Regions from separate parts of the Homo sapiens genome. Here region 2 is linked to region 1. The links are contacts of gene promoters, found by promoter capture Hi-C in blood cells and fetal thymus (Javierre and others, 2016). All regions are on one chromosome and are shown on one strand. Each heading gives the region's core, a stretch centred on a gene start or on the middle of the fragment in contact. The rest is flanking DNA. Distances are from core to core; before and after follow the strand shown. Region 1 holds the start of NUP50 (nucleoporin 50). Region 2 has its middle 22 kb from the start of RIBC2.

Region 1 (4,431 bases), core at 1,421-3,920:
CCAAACTGCACCATTTTCTAAGCCCCCCGCCATTTCGCAGACACTGGTCAAAGCGAAACATTCCACGGGGGTTCAGGCCGTGAGAAATTTCCTGCCCAACTTTCTTACCAAACCCTGTTGGGTAAAGGCCCAATTGAAGGAACATCCCTATCAAACCTTGCTCAGCAAAGGTGCAAGGAACATCACTGTCACTTTCTGAGGGAACAAGGGCCAAACTGCCTGATCATAGAACGTTTTATGGATAGATATACTGGTAAGTATATTCACATGGCAAGCCATACTGCCCATTCCCCTCCTGCCCTATAAGTACCCCAGCCTGTAAGCAGCAGTGGGCTCTGGCATTAAGCTGATCCCCCATCTCTGTAGGTTTTTGCCATATACCTGTGTTGCTGTTGAGCTGCCCTTTGTTTTTTTTTTTTTTTTTTTTTTTTTTTGAGACGCAGTCTCACTGTATTACCCAGCCTGGAGTGCAATGGCGTGATTTTGGCTCGCTGCAACCTCTGCCTCGCGGGTTCAAGTGATTCTCCTGCTTCAGCCTCCCAAGTAGCTGAGATTACAGGCATGTGCCACCACGCCCCGCTAATTTTTGTATTTTTAGTAGAGATGAGGTTTCACCATGTTGGTCGGGCTGGTCTCCCACTCCTGACCTCAGGTGATGCACCCGCCTCGGCCTCCCAAAGTGCTGGGATTACAGGCGTGAGCCACAGCGCCCGACCTGTGTGTCATTCTTTAACTCTCGTCTTCCCTTCAAAACCTAACAATATCTTAAGATCAAAAGCATTCTTCATTTAGGTTTCGCTTTAAAGATAATATAGATCTTTGCCAAAGTCAGTAAACAAAGATGAACAATCCTTGTGTCAGGCCTCTGAGCCCAAGCCAAGCCATCGCATCCCCTGTGACTTGTACGTATACGCCCAGATGGCCTGAAGTAACTGAAGAATCACAAAAGAAGTGAAAAGGCCCTGCCCCACCTTAACTGATGACATTCCACCATCGTGATTTGTTCCTGCCCAACCTTAACTAAGTGATTAACCCTGTGAATTTCCTTCTCCTGGCTCAGAAGCTCCCCCACTGAGCACCTTGTGACCCCCCACCCCTGCCCACCAGAGAACAACCCCCTTTGACTGTAATTTTCCATTACCTTCCCAAATCCTATAAAACGGCCCCACCCCTATCTCCCTTCGCTGACTGTCTTTTTGGACTCAGCCCGCCTGCACCCAGGTGAAATAAACAGCCATGTTGCTCACACAAATCCTGTTTGGTGGTCTCTTCACACGGACGCGCATGAAACCTTGGTCGTGGGCCCTCGTGGTAGAGCCCATGTCCCCCAAGATTTCTTTGGCTGTGTTACCTTAGATTTGAACAAGCACTGTACCTAAGGCGGGCGCCTTCCTCCTCCCGCTTTCAGGAATGCCCTGCTCTGCCATTCTTTTGCTTTCTCACTTCTCTAATACACTTGCTTTCACTTTAGTCCGTGGACTCGCCCCGAATTCTTTCCTACGCGACATCCAAGAAGCCTCTCGCTGGGTCTGAGTGGAGACCTCTTTCTGGTAATAAACGGACTAGGGAGATTCGACTTTGAAGGTGAAAACAAAAACCACCATCCAGTTTATAAGAAGGCGCTCGAGGCCGGGAACGGTGGCTCAGGCCTGTAATCCCAGCACTTTGGGAGGCTGAGGTGGTGGGGCGGGGGGAGGGAATCACCTGAGGTCACGAGTTCGAGACCAGCCTGACCAATATGGTGAAAACCCGTCTCTACTAAAAATATAAACATTAGCCGGGCGTGGTGGCGCACGACTGTAATCCCAACTACTCGGGAGGCTGAGGCAGGAGAATCGCTTGAATCCGGGAGGCAGAGGTTGCAGTAGGCCAAGATCGTGCCACTTCACTCCAGCCTGGGCGAACAAGTTAAACTCTCCATCTCAAAAAAAAAAAAAAAAAAAGGGCGGCACTGGAAACAGCTGGGAGTGACAGGGCCAGGGATGAGGGATCGCAAGCTGCTGGTGAGAAAGGAGCTCAGAGGCTGCCTGGCCTACGGGCCAGGAGACCTCAGCGCAAAAAGCGCAGGACTCGTTCCCCTGCTCTACAGCTGAGTGCCCAGGACGGATCTCACTGGCTGAAAAAAACAGAAGAGAAGGCACCCAATGCAAAATCAAATGTCAGCGAACGAGGGGTCCTTTAACAGGCGGCCCACACGGCCCCTCCTGGCGCCGAGACCCAGCCCCTCCGGGCCACCCCGGCCAGGTACGACCAGCAGGGTCACCTGCGCGCGTCCCCCGAGACGGGGCCTCCTGATGTGAAGCGACCCCAGTGGCACCTCACACGATTCCCGAGGGTTGCGGGCGGCCTCTCCTCAGCCCTGCAGCTCCCACACGCGGACACCGCGGGCCTCGGCCATGTCCACTGACCGACCTTCCTCGCCGGAACTCCTCGCGCATCGCCGGCCCCTCAGCGGCGACTAGCGCGCGAACATCCTGGAAGACGCGTTGCCGGCCCCACGTGAGCCGACGCCCCAAAGCGCGGCTGCTGGCGCCGGCTACGAGATCAAGGTCGGCGCGTGCGCGCTTGCGCGAGACCGGCATTCTCAGCCCCGCGCCGGTTTCCAGGGAGCTGGGCGCATGCGCCGCGTAAGGGGCCCGGCCGGCGGAAGGAGGTGCTACTGCCGGAAGCGCCGGCGCGCTTGCGCAGTAGCTGAACGCGGGCGTTTCTTTCCTCCCTTTTTTTCGAATTGGTTTTGGGGGTAGATTCGAGTTACAAAATGGCCGCCCGGAGCGTGTTCGGCGCGGTTCCCCCAGCTGTCTCTGGCTGAACCGGCGCTCTCGCCTCCCTGCCGAACACAGCGTGAGGAGCCCCCCCAGGGATATGGTGTTTGAGTCTCTGGGCTTGCCGAGCACTAAGTCCTCTGAGTTCCGCAGCGCAGCACCGGAAGCGGCCGAGCGCGCTCAGCCCGGCGACCCCTGCGGGCTCCAGACCCCTGCGCCGCTGCGCCCCGGGTTTCGCCGCAACCAAGACCCAGCGAGTGCAGCGGCGGCCGCCGAGGAGGTGAGGAGCGGCGGCGGGCGCGGGAGGAGAAGAGGCTGAGGGCGGGAGCCTGGTGCTGAGAGCCCAGGGCCGGGAGGGCGGGAGCGGGCTCGGGCCTGGGAGGGGAGTGCGAGTGCAGGGCTGGGGACTGGACCCTGGGGAGGGAGGTGCGGGTTCAGCGCCGGGGGACGGGCCCCTGGGGAGGGGTGCGGGGCCGGGGGACCAGACCCTGGGGAGGGGCTTAAGGGGCTGGAGGACGGGACCCTGGGAAGTGGGGTACAGGGCTAGAGGTCGGGACTCTAGGGAGGGAGCCTGGGTCGGGCGCACGGGCCGGGCGGGGCGCGCGGTGGGGGAGCGACGGGTGGAGGGTGGGGTGGGATGACAGCGGCGACGCAGCCCCGGCTGTTTTTGAAGCGGGGCCCGGGCCCCACCGGGCTGCGGCGTCCGACTCGAGTGAGACTCTCCCCTGCGGCCCCGCCGGAGGTAGGGGGCTGGCAGGGCTGTCCTGGCGTGGTCTTCTCCGTTTCCTTCCTAGCGATTCCTCTCGAGCTTCCTCTCCCCCTGGCCGCCCCTCGTCTCTCTTCTCTTGGGCGCATTACCTCTCTGGCCTGTCTTACTGCGTTCCCGGGTTATTCATCACCCATTTGCTCGGTTCCATTAAGAACCAGCTTGGAGATTAGGTATTTCTGTCTCCTTACTTGGCCCCCTTGTTGTTTTCCTCCAACAAGGCACTTCACTATTAAGTGTAGCCAAATCTGTGTTTTCGTTTTAAGGTGATGTTGACAAGTTGAGCTTTCCAAGGGCAGAGCTACACCAGATGCCAGAGACCACATAACTATATCAGGCACAAATAATGTTTTTTTCCAGTTTACCTAGACTTTCAGTCTCCCACCACGTTGCTTCATACCTAGAAATCATGTCTAATTTGGTTTTTTACCCACAAACGCAAACGTTTTTTAAATTCCCTTTTATTGATTGTTTGATTGAGACTGGGTCTTGCTTTGTCACCAGGCCTCAGTGTAGTGGTAGCTCACTGTGTAGCCTGAAGCTCCTGGGCTCAAGTGATTCTCCTGCCTCAGCTTTCCAAGTAGCTGGGACCACAGGCGTGCGCCACTACGCTCGGCTAATTTTTTATTTCTATTCATCTAATCTATGTCCATCTTTATTTTCGTAGAGACCAAGTTGGTTTCCAACTCCTGGCTTCAAGAGATCCTTCCGCCTCCCTTAAGTTCTTCATAACAGTAGCTAGACATAAGACTCCAGGTGCCAGGCCTTGTTCTGAATATTTTACAGAGGGTTTTTTCTCCCCCCCACTTCTAGCATAAAAGTAAAATGTATTGTCTGAAGTGTCATGCTTTGAAATAAAATAGGGATTTGGTAAAATATTTGTAAAAATCTGGTTTGTAATCC
Region 2 (4,431 bases), core at 1,324-3,823, 270 kb after region 1:
TGCGCCACTGCACTCCAGCCTAGCGACAGAGCAAGACTCTGTCAAAAAAACAAACAGACAAAAACAAAACCAGAGGCTAATTTCTGCTCTCATAGAAGTGCAAGCTCATATGGTGGCTCTGCTGAGGCTCCTTCCAGCTTGTGGCTCTGTCCTCTCCGCTGCCACACGCAGCTCCTGTCTTGTGGTCCAGGATGCTGCTCCGGCCTCCACCATCCTGCCACGCTCTGGCCAGCAGCGAGGAGGAAAGGCAAAAAAGAAGGGGGTCGGCATGCTACTTCTCCATGACAACATGGAGACATGGCATGGAAAGTGCATTTCACCTCCGCTTGTATCGCATGGAGCAGAATTCAGTCATGTGACCACACCTACGTGAATGGAGGCTGGGAAGCTTAGCTGGCTGACCGTGTGACCAGACCATCATTCTACAACTGTATACAAATGAAGTAATACATATTAGGGGACAACTAGCTATCTGCTGCAGGCCACACTTGAAGAGTGACTTGGAAATTGCCAGGCAGGAGGTGTGGGGAGGCATTTTCCACTGAGAGTGGGGACTAAGTCCAGCCCTGTCCTTGAGGTCAAGGACAGGATTTCTGGCCCCAAAGCCTAGAAATCACTGGGTTCCCCCACCCCAGTTAACCTCTTCCTCCTCCACATGGGTTTCTTGTGGGGCCATATACCCAGGGCCATTGACAGATGGCAGCTCTTGGCATGTTATCCTTAGCTGAGATAGAGCTGGATACTCCAGTGCAGACAGCTTAGCTCACTTTACCCTCCGTCTAAATGCCCCTCTGGTTCTTCCCATGCTCAGACCCTTCACTGGCTGACGTTTCACCTGAGCCTCAGGATCGGTAGGGTTTTTAGGTGGACAGAGTGGGGCTGGACTTGCTAGCAGGCATAAACAAAGGCACTGCGGTGTCCAGGAGAGAAGTGGCAGGGCAGTATCCGCTGAGGTGGGTGTGTAGAGGGCCTGGGGTCTGGTGTGGGGTGGGGGTGGAAGGAAGAGGTGTGTGGCCAAGGTGTGAGGAGCAGGCGGGCCGACGAGGAAGGCTGCAGACTTTATCCTGAAGGCAAAAGGGGAGCTTGGAGAGAGTTGTCGGCCAGGCAGAGAGGGCTGGGTGTGCTCTAGCAGCCCAGCAGGCTCAGGCCACCCAGGGGCTGCCAAAAGGGAGGCAAGGCTTTGCAGACAGACTTTATGCCTCCCTCTGGATCCAGGCCCACACGGGCTCCCAGGCAAAGCATTTGAACAAATGACCACACTGAAGACGTTGTTCAAATTCACAGTCGATCAAGTAATGCTGCCACCCCCAGGCTGGTGTGGGACCACGGGTGGGACCCAGGGGACTGCCTCAGGACCTGTAACTAGAGTGTGGATTGTGATGTAAAGCCAGAGAGGGGAGGGCGAGAGTCGGTTTGTTAGCACGCCCTGTGTACCAGGCTCCCACTGGGCCTCTTGGGCAGGTGGTCTCTTTAAACTGCCCCCATCGCACCGCTGGAAAGCAGCTGCTTAGCCTCGTTTTGCATCCACAAAATGAAGGACCTCACTGTTCTCACTGCACCAGGCAGGGCCACCATGCGGATCCCAGGGCTTCAAAACTCTCAGCCAGCTGCTCACCCCTTGTTTCCTGAACTGGAGCTGCGTATTTTCACAGTGACTAACGGTAACACGGACACTCCCTGTAGGGAAAGGGGTTCGGGGTGTACTCATTTCCCAGGCTGCCATTAACAAATGCCTGCAGACTGAGTGGCTTAACCAGGAGAAACTTAGAGTTCCTCGAGGTGCTGGAGGCCAGAAGTCCAAATTGAGGTGTAGGCTGTGTTGCTTCCCTCTGAGGCTGCGAAGAAGGATCTGTTCCGGGCCTCTGCCCCAGCTCCTGGTAGTTTGCTGGTGATCTCTGGTGTTCCTTGGCTTGTACATGCATCACTCTGATCTGTGCCTTCCTCTTCCTGTGGTCTTCCCTGTGTGCGTGTATGTGTCCAAATTTCCCCTTTTCATAAGGACACCAGCCACGCCGGGTTAGAGCCTAACCTAATGACCTCATATTAACTAATTTCATTTACAATTAACCTATTTCCAAATAAGGTTCTATTCTGAGGTACCTGGGATTGGGACTCCAACATATCTTTTGTGGGAGGACCCAATTCAACCCACAACAAGGGGAAAGGCAGGAGAGCACCTGGTTCCGTTGCCTCCCAGGATAACTCCATTAGGAACATTTGTGTCCAGGCTGAACAAGCCAGGCTCTGGGAGGGCCCCAGTGATGGGCGAGTGACAGCCAATACTGTCATTCACCCTCCTGCTTTCAAGTGGGGAGATAAAGGGAGAAATGGGAAATAATGTCGGTTCATTCAATGAGCACTGAGCACTCTTCCTGTCCTGGATCAGGCTAGGCCCTGGGCCAGGATCGCCACGTCTAATGGGAGACAGGGACAGGGAGGGAAATCCTTGGGAAGAAGGCAGAGGAGAAAAGGGAGACAGCGCTAGGAGGCCGCCGCAGCCATCACCACTTCGTTTATATGCCTGGAATCACGCCCCAACGTGGAGAGGCTTGCTTTAACTCTGAAGGCTGCAACTTTGTAAAAAATACTCCTGAAGGAAGGAAGGGCAGGCGTGAGAACTTTGGACGCAGACTTGCTTTCTGTGCGCCCTCTGCTGGTGACCAGCAGCACAACACAGTCCCTGCCGTTCTCCAGGCAGGAAGAGGAACGAGGTGATTAAACTGCGAAGGCCCAGGTCCTGTGCTGGGCAGTTTCTTGCAACAGCCCCGACACTGCTGGATGTTGTGATTCCCGTCCACAGGATGAAAGACGTTCCGTGTGTTGCCCCTGGGTGGAAGGCAGAGCCGAGGCCAGACATGGGGGGTTACTCTCCCCTGAAAGGCCCATTGTGATTTCATAAATCCAAAGGGTTTTTGTTACATTTCCCCCCTAATTTTTTTTTTGAGAGGGGGGTCTCACTTTGTCGCCCAAGCTGGCGTGGCACAATCTTGACTTACTGCAACCTCTGCCTCCTGGGTTCAAGCGAGTCTCCTGCCTCAGCCTCCCGAGTAGCTGGGATTACAGGAGTGCACTACCACGCCTGGCTAATTTTTGTATTTTTAGTAGACACAGGGTTTCTCCATGTTGGCCAGGCTGGTCTCGGACTCCTGACCTCAAGTGATCCGTCCACCTTGGCCTCCCAAAGTGCTGCGATTACGGGCCTGAGCCTCTGCACCCAGCCCTCCCTGCTACATTTTATTTCAAGCATAAAGAAAAACTGAAGGAATTGTACAGAATGTACACATACATCCACCACCTAGATTCTACAATTAATATTTTGCTATATTTGTGTCCTAGTGAGAGGTGACAGCGTGCTGGCAGTCCTCAGAGCCCTCGCTTGCTCTCGGCACCTCCTCTGCCTGGGCTCCCACTTTGGTGACACTTGAGGAGCCCTTCAGCCCACCGCTGCACTGTGGGAGCCCCTTTCTGGGCTGGCCAAGGCCAGAGCCGGCTCCCTCAGCTTGCAGGGAGGTGTGGAGGGAGAGGCGCGAGCGGGAACCCGGGCTGCGCGCGGCCCTTGCGGGCCAGCTGGAGTTCCGGGTGGGCGTGGGCTTGGCGGGCCGCGCACTCGGAGCAGCCGGCCAGCCCTGCCGGCCCCGCGCAGTGAGGAGCTTAGCACCCGGGCCAGTGGCTGCGGAGGGTGTACTGGGTCCCCCAGCAGTGCCGGCCCACTGGCGCTGCGCTCCATTTCTCAGCGGGCCTTAGCTGCCTTCCCGCGGGGCAGGGCTCGGGACCTGCAGCCCGCCATGCCTGAGCCTCCCACCCCCTCCATGAGCTCCTGTGCGGCCCAAGCCTCCCCGACGAGCGCCGCCCCGTGCTCCACGGCGCCCAGTCCCATCGACCGCCCAAGGGCTGAGGAGTGCGAGCGCACGGCGCGGGACTAGCAGGCAGCTCCACCTGCAGCCCCGGTGCGGAATCCACTGGATGAAGCCAGCTGGGCTCCTGAGTCTGATGGGGACGTGGAGAACCTTTGTATCTAGCTCAGGGATTGTAAACGCACCAATCAGCGCCCTGTCAAAACAGGCCACTGGGCTCTACCAATCAGCAGGATGTGGGTGGGGCCAGATAAGAGAATAAAAGCAGGCTGCCCAAGCCAGCAGTGGTAACCCGCTCGGGTTCCCTTCCACTCTGTGGGAGCTTTGTTCTTTTGCTCTTTGCAATAAATCTTGCTACTGCTCACTCTCTGGGTCCACACTGCTTCACCGCGAAGATCTGCAGCTTCACTCCTGAGCAAGCGAGACCACAAACCCACCAGAAGGAAGAAACTCCGAACACATCCGAACATCAGAAGGAACAAACTCCAGACGCGCCACCTTAAGAGCTGTAACACTCACCGCGAGGGTTCCCGGCTTCATTCTTGAAGTCCAAGAACCCACCAGTTCTGGACACACT

What was found. The method cuts DNA at HindIII sites, captures the fragments that hold promoters and counts their contacts. A CHiCAGO score of 5 or more calls a contact.
Region 2: a fragment that was not itself captured here is called in contact with the fragment with the promoter of NUP50 in region 1 in 7 of 17 cell types (neutrophils, naive B cells, naive CD4 T cells and 4 more); the score reaches 14.3 in neutrophils.

The regions. Positions count from the first base shown.
Region 1 is chr22:45,161,255-45,165,685 of GRCh38, forward strand. NUP50 (nucleoporin 50) reads left to right here and starts at 2,671. Exons shown (of 8, transcript NM_007172.4): 1 at 2,671-3,042. It overlaps NUP50-DT (NUP50 divergent transcript), which reads right to left and starts at 2,527. Exons shown (of 3, transcript NR_038956.1): 1 at 2,323-2,527. RefSeq lists silencers at 2,183-2,232, 3,003-3,232, 3,263-3,442 and an enhancer at 2,600-3,122. The HindIII fragment of the contact is 17,324 bases long and covers 1-4,431 here.
Region 2 is chr22:45,433,210-45,437,640 of GRCh38, forward strand. No RefSeq gene overlaps it. Among named protein-coding and RNA genes, the nearest start is that of RIBC2, 22 kb to the left of the region's middle. The HindIII fragment of the contact is 4,374 bases long and covers 387-4,431 here.